Regions from separate parts of the Homo sapiens genome. Here region 2 is linked to region 1. The links are contacts of gene promoters, found by promoter capture Hi-C in human tissues and cell types (Jung and others, 2019). All regions are on one chromosome and are shown on one strand. Each heading gives the region's core, a stretch centred on a gene start or on the middle of the fragment in contact. The rest is flanking DNA. Distances are from core to core; before and after follow the strand shown.

Evidence for each region. The method cuts DNA at HindIII sites, captures the fragments that hold promoters and counts their contacts. A contact is called where the count stands out against the background at its distance.
Region 2: a contact is called between a fragment that was not itself captured here and the fragment with the promoter of SCGB1D4 in region 1, in 1 of the 25 tissues and cell types used here (H1 embryonic stem cells).

The regions. Positions count from the first base shown.
Region 1 is chr11:62,295,157-62,301,773 of GRCh38, forward strand. It overlaps SCGB1D4 (secretoglobin family 1D member 4), which reads right to left and starts at 3,919. Exons shown (of 3, transcript NM_206998.2): 1 at 3,800-3,919; 2 at 2,316-2,502; 3 at 1,125-1,263. The coding sequence starts at 3,854. The coding sequence ends at 1,254. The HindIII fragment of the contact is 5,452 bases long and covers 1,715-6,617 here.
Region 2 is chr11:62,165,844-62,172,275 of GRCh38, forward strand. It overlaps the pseudogene EEF1DP8. Among named protein-coding and RNA genes, the nearest start is that of SCGB1D1, 21 kb to the right of the region's middle. The HindIII fragment of the contact is 4,245 bases long and covers 160-4,404 here.

The sequences.
Region 1 (6,617 bases), core at 2,669-5,168:
AAAGCATTATGTAGACATGATTCAGTTAAGGATCTTGAGATAGGGACATTATTCTGAATAATCTGGTGCTTCCTAACCCCAACCTCTGTATTTTGTAATTAAAAGTCAGAGAGGGATTTGACACGGAAAGGAAAGGAGATGGGAATGTATCATGGAGGCAGAGGTTGGAGTGATGTGGCCACAGGACCAGCATGGTCAGCAGCCCTTAGTGAACTCGCCCGGAGAGCCCCCAGAAGGAACAGAGCCCTGCTGCCCCCTGACCTCCCCACAGTGATACCAGTGTTGGGCTTCTGACCTTCAGAGGTACAAGAGAATCCGTTGTTTTAAGCCACCAAGCTTTCGGAGGTTTCTTGCAGCAGCCACAGGACACCAAGCCAGGAACCTGTGGCGTCTCCCTATGTCCTGGTCAGGGGGCTTGCTAGGTTGGGTGCATTAGCCTGGATGGGCTTATGGAAGGGAGAGCAGGCTGGGGGCAGACCCTGTGCTCAGTTTTACATCCTGCTCCTGAAATGACTGTGGAGTGTGCACTGGGAGCTGTCCAGTTGGCAAGGGGTGCTGGTCTCTGGAGCTCTTGAGAGAGCTTGAGGAAGGAAGCATTTGCCTCAGGTGCTGGTGAGTGAGGCGGACACTGAGGAGTGCTCTGAGTGTGGGGAGTAAAACAATGTGAACTCCAGGTTGAAACCTGGAGATGCCCTCAAATTGTGATAAATGGAAAATAAAGTATACTGGACATGACTTGGTGCAGAGAGAGCACCAAGCAGGCTGGCTGTGCATCTGAGGGGACAACAAACTAGGGCTAGGGCTGCTGCTAGTGGGAACCACGTGCCTGGACACCAAGGCAGGCTGGGAGATCCCTCAGTCCAAGACCAGCAGGACCACTGTAATTGCTGTTTTCTATTGCCATGGTTTTCATTCGCGAACGCAGGATGGGAAATCTGTAAGGAATCCAGGATGATTTCTGCAAATATTTCCTTCTGGGATGCTTGCATTCAGGCCCCATTAGTAACAGAATGCTGGTTACTCTAGAGTTGATTATCAGCCACAGCAAAAGTCCACTCCCCTATGGAAACCACCCTCGATTCAAGGCCCGAGACTGCAGGATCATAACAAGACCAGTGGAGATGTGCAGGGCAAGTGATTTATTAAAGCAACGTGTTGAAACCTTTACAATTTTTAGTGAAGATCAGGGTGTCGTTGAAAGACTTTGGAAACCAGGTTGAGCATTTTTACATGTCACACACCACATTTTTTCACTATTTCCACCTGAAATCAAAAAAAAGAAAGAAAGAAAGAAAGGTGAGGTCAGTCATGCTGCTGCTGGTGATGATAGGCTAACATCAAAGAGGCCAATGGGATTTTGCCCCAATGGCAATTGGAAAGGCAGAGGCAAGAATTCAGTTTGGGAAACTGAGGCCTAGACCTGGTGGCCTTACAACACCCATTCTGGTGAGAAAGCAGCCTTTCCCCACCAGACCAATAGACCTGGGAAGACCCAGGAGTTAGGCCCAGGGTTTTCATGGAGGAGGAGGGGAGGGGTTGACAGTGCAGCAAGAGGTTGTTGTCTGGGCTGTCCCAGGTCTGTGGAGTCTCCTGATCCCTGTAATGGGGGACCCAGGGCTCTGAAGCCAGGCAGGGCAGGGAGGGCTTCTGGGAAACACACCTTCCAGGAGACTCCAGTCTTCCCATGGGAGAATTCTGCCTAACGGCCAGGGGTCTTATCAGCCCTGACCCTGCAGCTTCTATGGGTATTTGCAGCCAAACCTCAGGACAACAATCCAGAGGCAGCCAGGCTGAGAGGGCCCTGGAATCTCTGATTTCTTGAGAAAGACATAGTGAGAACATCCCACTTGTGTGGCGTTGCAGTAGGTAGAGCAGCGAAAAAGTCTTGGCCCACTGGCTGTGGTCAGGAGAGTGTCATGGATGAGGAGTGGATAGTGGGCCCTGAGGAGCTGCAAGGGGCTCCTGGCTCTGCAGAAGCTGCACAGGAGCCCAGTTCACCAGCACCCTGTCTGTGGGAGGCCCAGCTCTAGGTCCCCTCAAGCCTCCTCTCCCTGTTCAAATCTCCCACACTCCCTGGGACATCCCATAGTGACCGTGTCCACTGCGTGAGGGTAGGTTGACCTCAGGAAAGATCCCAGCAGGGAGGCGGCCGTGCTTGGCCCTTCACCATCCCTGCCTTGGCCCTAGCTCACTCCCCATGTCCTCAGCACACTCTGGGGACACAGCATCCAGGCAGGTGACCTGACAAGAAACATGCAGGAGGCTGTGTGCAGCTGAGTTGAATTCTGCCTCTGCATAAAGGAGAAAGAAATTACCAGGACTTTTTCAATGAGAGTCGTTTCTTAAAAGATATCTGATCGGTGCAGTGCTTCACTTCCAACTTGGCTGCAAGAGCTTCTGGAGGTGGATTAAGTTTGGCAACTTGGAGGTTTACCGCAGCGTCACTTAAGAATAAGAAGACTGTGATCTCAGAAGCAACAGCTGGGCAGACAAGAGCATGGGCTGCAGCACAAAAATAAAAATATTGTTGATGTTAGGAAAGTCGATTTTTCTCTCATGGCTCCCTGAGGTTACACCAGACAGGATCCCCTGGGTTCTATGTTTCTATACCATTATTGTGCTGATGACAATACCAGAAACTCCAGGTGTGACTTTCTCCGGGTCACACAACAAAGGGAAGAGCTTCATATCCTCAGCTAGACTTCTTTTTCTTTTTTTTGAGATAGGTTCACCCAGACTGGAATGCAGTGGCACAATCTCGGCTCACTGCAGCCTGAATGTCTTGGGCTCAAGCGATCCTCCCTCAGCCCCCAAAGTAGCTGAGACTACCAGTGCCTGCCACCATGCCCGCTTTTGTGTGTGTGTGTGTGTGTGTGTGTGTGTGTGTGTGTTTTGTTTTGTTTTTTTTTTTTGTAGAGATGGGGTTTCGCCATGTTGCCCAGGCTGGTGCTGAACTCCTGAGCTCAAGTGATCTGCCCACTGTGGCCTCCCAAAGTGCTAAGATTACAGGAATGAGACACCATGCCTGGCCCACAGCTTGACTCTTGACAACCATAACCTTACTTCATTCTCATAGCCACTCCTGGCAGAAGCTTTAACCACCAGTGATAAGAGGAGGCTCAAGGAGGGTGAGCATTGTGCCCAAGATCAAGGGGTGGGAAGTGTCGAAGCCCAGGTTCACCCCAGACCTCACATTACATCATCTGACACAGATCCCATTCAGAAGTGAAGCTCAGGCAGAAGAATTCCTAACATTTGCCTGAACTGATTTTTCTATAAAACTTCTTAGATACTGGGGATTAGAAGAAATAGCTCTAAGCAGCCAGGCGCAGTAGCTCATGCCTGTTATCCCAGCACTTTAGGAGGCCGAGGCGGGCAGATCATCTGAGGTCGGGAGTTCGAGACCAGCCTGACCAACATGGAGAAACCCCATCTCTACTAAAAATACAAAATTAGCCAGCTGTGGTGGCCCATGCCTGTAATCCCAGCTGCTCAGGAAGGCTGAGGCAGGAGAATCACTTGAACCCCGGAGGCAGAGGTTGCAGTGAGCCAAGATCATGCCACTGCACTCCAGCCTGGGCAACAAGAGCAAAACTTCTCAAAAAAAAAAAAAAAAAAAGGAAGAAGAAAGAAGAAATAGCTCTAACCTTTATGAATCTTATTCAACAAGCACAGAAAAGGGTTTGGAATTTTGTTTGGTTTTGTGCAGACCCCAACCCAAAGCACAAATAGGTGATCTTGTGCTCAGAAGAGGGTGCATCCCAGGGGCTGGTGCTGGACTCATGACTGATGTACTCACCCTGGTAGCAGCAAAGGGCCAGCGAGACCATCAGGAGACACACTGACAGCCTCATGGTGGCTTATTCGGCTGTGAGCTCAGCTTTCACAATGAGTGATTTGGATTCGACTCCAGGAGCCTGTGTAGTCATGGAGGCCAGGGCTATTTGTACCTAGGGAGCCTGGCTGGTCCTACCTACCGGGGCACCTGGTAGGTCATGAGGCCTGGCTCCCAGCCCGCCCTTCCAAGCCAGGGCTGCTGCCGTCCATCAATGTCACCTCCTTAGGAATCTCTGCATCTGAGTGGGGCGGAGCACAAGACAGCAGCCTTGTGAGAACTCTGCTCTGTGCTCCAGGTGAGTGTTCAGGTACATCTGGAAATGTTCCTGGGATCCTCAATTTCCTTATGAGCTTTTGCTGATTAGTTCTTTTTATCTTTGTAGCAGTGCAGGGGCACAGGTGAATTATGGCTTCACAAGGCACAGGAAGCTGGAAGGCTGTGTTCTCTTTATGGGAGAGCAGGGACATAAGGAGACCCTGCTTTGATCCCCCTGCATGTCTGACAACAAGCAGGCTTGTTTCAGTTGCACATTGGGAAAGTCTAATCCTTCCCCTCAGCCCCTTCCATCACCACCATGTTCACTGCATAGGTACTGAAAACATAGTTGAATACATCCCACCTGTAGAAGATATGCTGAGGAAAAACATCTGCTGCACCTGTTCTCTAGCCTGCCTCACTCCCAAACCTGAATCTTGTTTATACGTGCAGTTATATATATGGCCAAGATTCACATTTTCTATCTATAAAAAGCAAGCTTTCTGTGATGTGTAGCCACCCACGTCTTATCTTAGGGCTGATCTGAAGATTAAATAACCTAACTCTTTTTCTCAAGAGCTTTTGGAGTGTTCAGAGCCAATCATACATCAGTGGGGCTCTAGGCTGGGAAGATAATAGAAGGGAAGAGACAGAGGAACAGGGTGGGTGGTCACTTCCCCCTAACCCCTAGGCTCAAGTTTTCCACTTCAAACCTATCTGTGCTGCCTGGGCCAATCCCATTTTTAAGGGAAAGTGAAGGAAGCCCCCAGACAAAGCAATACACACCCGCCTTCCCTCCCATTGCCGTGCCTTCATGTGGTGTGAGTTTAATCACCAGAAATTTTTCTCTTAAATAAACTTACATTTGAGAGGAGTCACAGCCCAGGCCATAGCTTTCCATTCTCAGCTATGTAGTCAAATCACTTGGAGCTTTTAAAACATACTGACCCCACAGGCTTCTCTCTCTGGCGATTTTGATTCAGTAGCATTGGGGTGAATCCCTCCTTTCTGTACTGTTTAAACTGCTCTGGTGTTTCTCACAGACAGCAGGGCTGAGATCCAGCCAGGAAAACCTTTAAGAAGGAAGGGGACCTTACGGGTTTTGTCATCAAAGACACATTGACAGATTTAGTTGAGTCCAAGCTGAGGGCAACAGTGGATCTCACTTTCATCACACAGGATGACGACGGAGTCCCTGAATCAGCCCTGCTGCCACCAAGGAGGGGGAGGGTTGGTGGTGAGGTTTACAGCTATGAGGGTTCAGATCCTCATTTATGGGCTCCTGGACCTTAGGAAAATTATTCAGTTTATGTAACCCCAGTTTTCTCATTTGTCAAAGTAGGCTACTAATGGTGCCTACATCATTGGGTTGATAGATGATCAAATGAGTGTGTTCATGGGTGTGTGTGTGTTTAAAATATACCAAGTTCTGGTACATAGTAGTTCTCAATGTAAACTGCCATTATCTTGTCCCATTTGTCATATATGTCATGGTTTGCCAGTAGTTCCTAGTTTAGAGCACAGCCAAAATCCACTAAATCACCTACTTGCAGAACTACACGGACACCTAGATACACCATTTCTCTTTGACATAAATGGAAAAGGAAACCCAGCTCATGGTCTTGGAGGCTGCAAACCCATGAATATGGGCTTCAGGACTGAGGCCTCTTTTGCAGTAGACAGGTCTGTGAAGCATCCACCCTTTTTGTGGATGAGAGTTTATCCTCACTCAGGCTTGACATTCACCTTGTCATCTGTACAGTCCATTGGGGAGCATGTGTATCTCTGACAGAGGATTGTTTGCGTATACTTTTATTAGTCCTACCACGATTAACACCTATGCAGGGTTTTTTTGTTTTCATCATTGATGCTTTTTATGGCTCCCTCCTTTTTACACAATTGACTCAAGATTTTAGTTTATTCTTTCCATCCATGGACATCGTTGCCTGACCCCGATGACTTGTTCAATACTCCCCTTCATAGACTCTGCTGGAACCATGCACCTCTCATTTGCAGCAATCTCAAGTAACAAGGAATTTAAAAGGATTTTCTTTAAAAGTGCTCAGCTTAATTAAAAGTGGATATGTTCAAGTTATAGGTATATTGAAAAGGTCTTTATGCTTTTCTCTTGTTGAATCTTGTTTTTTGGGAAAAAGGCTCTTTTCTTTTCAATCAACTGAATTATTTTTCTCCATTTTTCATCTTACCATTCTTAATGCAAGCATGAGAAGCCCTAAGATAACTTCTGGTAGCATGGGACTCCTTGGGAAAAACAGAGGAGGCACCACAGACCCCATTTTGGGGAAAAAAAAAAAACTGTTTTCCTCATGAAACCCCCAAAATTAAAAGCAGTTACTTCTCAAAATCAAAGGCTCTGTTCTGTTATGTATTGTGTAATCTACCATTTTGAGTTTTGGGGGTGTCAAATTACTTCACACTATGAGAGAGCTTCGGTGTGTAATAACTAGATAGAAAATTCAATGTTAGGGATGGCTAATAGTAGTTATAATCAAAGAAGCGTGCT
Region 2 (6,432 bases), core at 1,032-3,531, 130 kb before region 1:
CACTTGTGGGAGCAGGACCCACTGAGGCCCAGTCCGAGGGCTCAGGTGGGAGAGCATCCACTGTGGCACTGCCGCGCTCGGGACCAGGGGCTGCTGGCCTTCAACAGTTGTGTCTCACGTTCTACTGAAGCAGATTGAGGAGAGTGACTCGGGCAGAGAATGCAGGGTGTTCTCTGTCTCCCTCCAGTAGACTAAGGCGTGTTAGTCTACATGAGGTCAACATGCAGACTGCAATGCAGGGAATCCTCTCTCATTCCTCGGGTAGGAGGGCAGGGCTGGGAATTACAACAGGGACCTCCCCTAATTGTCCGCCACCTGCCTGGAGTCACTTAGCAAAAAATAAAAATAATAAAAATCTGTGTTTGGCCCTGATGTGGACTCTACAGCTCCTTTTGCCACTCCCTGTGTCAGGGCCAAGGAGATGGGGTTTGTTGTCCAGCTCTGTCTAACCACTTCCCGGGGAATAGTCTGGGAATATGGATGACAACCTTTAATCGCAAAGTGCCTACTGTGTGTGAGGCACTGGGCGAGTTGAGTTGCGTTGGCCATAACCTTCAATCGCATTTGCTGATTGAGGGGTGATATTATCTTCATCTTCATTTTAAGTCTCTGGAAAGTGACACTCAAAGAGTTAAAGCAACCTCAAGCCCAAGGTTGTGTGGAGTGTGCAGTCGGGCAGGAAGCTCCACTGGACTTCGAAGGTGTTGCTCTAAGGCAAGCCTGCTACGACGCATGTCAAGACATCAGAAATGTTAAGAGGCTTCCCTCCATTGCCTCTTGTTGGCCAAAAGCACCCAGACTTTTCTGATGCCAGTGGGGACTTCCCAGTCCTTGCCCTGGCAAAGTAGGGCCCTCTCCCAGACTGCTATTTCCCACCCGGGGTTTCTGGTCCCTGGCCGCAGGACGTGGGATCTGGTATCACTGATGGAGCTGTACAGATGACATGTCCCAGAAGTGCAGGGAATTGAAGTTCATGGGGTGAACTTTGGCCAATGGGAAACAGGAGGCAGGAGGGGTCTGGGCAGGTGAATTCTGCCAGCTTTGTCTCTGATGCTGGACCCCGGCATTGTTTCTCCTTGCCGCCTATGTGGAGAAATCCCACCTGCTGAGCAAACGACTGTGTCTCTTGATGCCTAGGTGTAAAATAACCATCACTTCACATTTTCTTCATATCTGTCCTGTCTCACTTCCCTTTTGTCAGGTTCCTGTGAGGCCAGGGGAGATCTGGTGGGACAGGGAGAACAGCAGGGGTACACAGGGTCCTGGGGTTTGGCAGAGAAAGGGAGTGGCCAAAGGAGCTGTAGAGTACGTGAGGGTCAAACACAGAGTTGTATTATTTTTACTTTTTGCTAAGCACCTCTAGGCAGCTGGGGGACTTTCGGGGCTCTGTAACTTTGGATATTGGGAACTTTACTGGTCAGGCCCTAATGACCAGATTCTCATACCTGAGCTGCACATTGATAAGGCACAGTGAAGTGGATATCCCGCCCTTTGGGCCTCCAGGCCAGTTCCTCTTGGGAACTGCCCAGGACTCTCGTTCTGCCCAGGACTGAGCCCTGACTCAGGATGTCACTGTTAGAGAGAAGGGCAGAGAGGGGCTCACTACCGTTGACTGTTGCTGTTTTCTGCTTAGCTGGCTGGATATCCACCTCCTCTTTGAACTTCTTCAGACCCTCAAAATCAGCACCCTTGAAATCAGGGTCCTTGAAATCAGGAGTCTCAACACTGGGAGAGGACCCAAAAGGACCAGTAGCAGCTGGGAAGTCAGCTCTGGAGCCCTCAAAGAAGCTTTGCTTGACTCAACTACCTTTTTGCACATGGAGGTGGGAAGAAAAGAGTTAGGCACATTTATCATGATGGGGGAATGGCCATTGTGCCTTGTCCAGGGAACAATGCACACAGAGCATGAGCCCACCTGTGCAGCAAGATGCTGATATCCAGGTATCTGTGTCTGGATGGATGGGAAAAGACTTGACCCCATGAGCCCAGCAAGTTAACACTGGTTGTATATGGGTGACTTCTATGGGCTTTTCTTTATTTCCCCAAATTTATTTTATTTATTTATTTAGAGACAGGGTTTCACTTCAGTTGCCCAGGCGGGAATGCAGGGGCATGATCACGGCTCGTTGTGGCCTCAACCTCCCAGGCTCAAGCAATCTTCCTGCCTCATTTTTTTGATTTTTTGTAGAGATGAGGTCTCACTATGTCACTGAGGCTGGTCTCCAACCCCTGGGCTCAAGTGATCCCCCTGCCTCAGCTTCCCAAAGTGCTGGGATTACAGGCATGAGCCATTGCACCCAACCCTGTATTTCCCAAAATTTCTAAAGAATGGCGGGCACAGTTTGAGACCAGCCTGAGTGACATAACAAGACCCTGTCTGTATTTATTAAAACAAACAAAATAATAAAGTCTCCAAGACACACAGGCTTGCCTAATAACTTTAATTTGTTTGGAAAAGCCCTGCCCTCTAAGTGAAAAGCTGTCACATGAAAAAAATATTGCCATTACTTTGTTCAATTCTTTTATTGCAGTAAAATACACAAAACATGAAAATTACCATCTTAATCGTTTTTTTAAATAATTTTAAAATGTATATATCAGTGGTATTAAATACATTTTGTAATTTTGTGCAACCATTACTGCCATCTATCTCCAGAGTGCTTTTCATCTTGCAAAACTGAAAAGTTATACCCATTAAACAATAATTTCCTATTCCTCCCTCCCCCGTCCCCTGGCAATCACCATTCTACTCTCTGTTTCTATGATTTTGACTATTTTACATACATATAAGTGGAATCATACGTTATTTGTCTTTTTTTATGTAACTGACTTATTGCACTTAACATGTCTTCAAGATTTATTCATGTTGTAGCATGTAGTTTTCCTTCCTTTTTAAGGCTAGATAATATTCCCTTGTATGTATGTACTATATTTTGATTATTCATGTGTCTGTTGATGGACACTTGGGTTGCTTCTGTGTTTTATTGTGAATAATGCTGCTGTGAACATGGATGTACAAATCTTTTTTTGAGACTCTGCTTTCAATTATTTTGTGTATACCCTGAAGGGGAATTGCTGGATCATGTGGTAACTCTATTTTTACTCTATTTCTGGCCTTTCTATTTTATTCCATTGGTCTACATGGCTGTCTTTATGCCAGTACCACATTGTTTTGATTACTGTCACTTTGTAGCAAGTTCTCCAGCTTTGTTCCGTCTTTTCAAGATTGCTTTCACTATTTGGGGTTCCTTGATATTCCATATGGATTTTATAATTGTTTTTTCTATTTCTGGAAAAACCATTTTTGGGATTTTGATAGGGATTGCATTGAATCTTTGGGTAGTATTGACATCTTAACAACATTAAGTCTTCTGTTCTCTTGCCTCAGGCGTCCCACGTCCACCGATTCCTCCTCCCTCGTTGCTGAGTCCTTGGCTGGCATCAGAAAAATGGCTACAAACTTCTCAGTATATGAGAAGATCTGGTTTGACAAGTTCAAATATGACATTGCAGAAAGGAGATTGTACGAGCAAATGAACGGGCCTGTGGCCAGCACCTCCCGCCAGAAGAATGGCGCCAGCGTGATCCTCCATGACATTGCGAGAGCCAGAGAGAACATCCAGAAATCCCTGGCCAGAAGCTCAGGCCCCAGGGTCTCCAGCGGCCCCAACGGAGAACACAGCGAGCTTGTTGTCCTGATCGCCAGTCTGGAAGTGGAGAACCAGAGGCTGAGCAGCGTGGTGCAGGAGCTGCAGCAGGCCATGTCCAGGCTGGAGGCCCAGCTGAACGTGCTGGAGAAGAGCTCTGCTGGCCACCGGGCCACAGTCCCTCAGACCCAGCACGTGTCTCCCATGTGCCAAGTGGAGCCCTGGCCAAGAAGCCAACCACACCAGCAGAGGATGACAAGGGCAATGACATTGACCTTTTTGGCAGCAACAATGAGGAGGAGGACGAGGAGGCAGCACAGCTGCGGGAGGAATGGCTGCCATTTCCCCCAGTAATTAGAAAAGCCTTATTGTGAGGTTTTTGATACCTTTTTATAGTTTTATGTTGTCATCTTTGTTTTAAGGAATATGTGAAGTTGTTTCAAAATTGGGAACAAGAATTGTCACATTCTTTTGTTTTTTCTTCATATTTTCTCCATATTTTTCTTGTTTTCCTCTTTTGCCCTCCAGTCCTGGGAGGAAAGTAAGTGTCATGGGTGAGGACTTTCCACTTCCTGGACCATTGGAGTCTCTGGGACCATCCACAGTCCCTAAGCCTGGGAAAGTGCTCTGTTCTTTAGCATATTAAAAATGGCCCTAGCCTGTCCTTAAATGACTCTAGAGGGGTCATTCAAGTGCATGTTTGTATGTGGAAAGATGATTAATATGTCACATATGGCTTAAAGGAGCCAGCAGGATCTTGAGACACAGTAAAAATATCCCCCCGCCACCCTTCAGAGGTGGGGAATTTTGATTCCTCCCTGGTAAATCTCTGTCAAATTACTAATTATTGATCTCTGATAATTACCAATTATTGATCCCTAACTCATGACTGTCTCCTTTACAGCTGGTGAGCAAGCCACTGATTCTAGACTTTCATGACTTTCTGATGACTTCCTGATGACTTCCTACTGACCAAATGATAAACCGCTCAGAATTTCCTGTCTGCACTGTGTGGGATAGTGTCCCCTGAGCCACCTTCTTTCTCAAATTGCTGTTATATTGTCTTAATCCACAAGGAAGGTCTTGTGTGAACATATGTATACATCCAGAGTGTTCTGGTAGAATTATAGCTCCCCTTGCACTAAGGGGTGCCCGGGGCACTTACATGATGTGTACTTGTTGTTAACCACCGCTCCCCAGGGGCTGGATCTTATCCCCTGTGCATAATCAGAAGCAGTTTCCCTAGTCTTGGTTCACCTGGTTGCAGTTCTCACCCTCTTCCTAGGAGTCCACTCTGCTGAGTTCCCATCAGGTCTTCTTCTGCACTGACTCTATGCCAGGTAGCTGGAGGTTAGACTGTTCCTTCAGCCTAGGTACTTTCTTTCTTCACCTCTTCATCATGTCCTCCAAAAAGCCTCCTATGTATAGGTTGGTTTACGTGGCCATTTTTTTTTTCTTTCTTTCTTTCTTTTGTTTTGTTTTGTTTTTTTTGTTTGTTTGTTTTTTGAGACGGGGTCTGGCTCTATCACCCAGGCTGGAGTGCAGTGGTGCGATCTCGTCTCACTGCAACCTCTGCCTCCCAGGCTCAAGCGATTCTCCTGCCTCAGCCTCCAGAGTAGCTGGGATTATAGGCGCGCGCCATCAGGCCTGGCTAATTTTTGTATTTTTAGTAGAGACAGGGTTTCACCATGTTGGTCAGGCTGGTCTCGAACTCCTGACCTCGGTGATCCACCCGCCTCGGCCTCCCAAAGTGCTGGGATGACAGGCGTGAGCCACAGCGCCCGGCCCGTTTTATTCTTTTAATTACCAAAGGCTGGCCTGTAGTAGGAGATGTCTGATGAGTTTTTCTTAAATTGAACGCCAACAATAAGGTTTGAGCCTCAAGGTGGCGCCATTTCATGTAGAGTCTGGAATCTCTGAACACTTGAAATAGACCATCCGTCACTAGCAGGAGCCCTTGCGTTCCGTTCCTGGATGCCGTTCTCAAAGTGAACACAATGAAATACAAGTTTCACTCGTGTTTGCATAAGGTCAAAACAACTGACAGGGTCGTTTCTTCTTGAGAGGACTGTGCGTTATCCTAGCAGGTGTATATACTATTTATCTCGTCAGATTTCTTACCAAGGAGACAGAAGCTGAGAAGAAATGAGATTAGGGGTTGTCTATCAAGGACAGAGGGAAAGAAGGGGGTAGCTGCGACTGTGTTTGTGGTGTGTGGGATGAAAAGGAAGATTTGAAGGATAAAACTAGAAGGGAAGTGAAGATGACTCCAAAGTGCCTTATTTGGAGCGGGATGAGACTGACTGGATGGTTCATGTTAAAGGGATCGTCTCAGCACAGCTGAGGGTTTTTCACACATACTATTATTTAATTCTACTGACTTTCACGTAAAGAAAGTGTAGTCTTTATTTACTGAGACTTAAAAAGATTAAATGGCTTTTCCAAGCTCACACAGTCCATATAACCCAGAGATGGGAAAATATATCTGGACCCCAAATCCTTAATTTTACTTGTCTGCCTGCCCGCCTCTTCCCTGTTGAACCTGGGGAGGCATCAGGGCATCCTGTTAGTGGTGTCCCACAGATAGACAAATTTTACCCTGGATTACGAAAAGCTGGATTAGCTTTCTTACTTAAACAATACTGGGGCCGGGCGTGGTGGCTCATGTCTGTAATCCCAGCACTTTGGGAGGCTGAGGCAGGCAGATCATGAGGTCAGGAGATCGAGACCATCCTGGCCAGCATGGTGAAACCCCGTCTCTTCTAAAATACAAAAAGTAAATTAG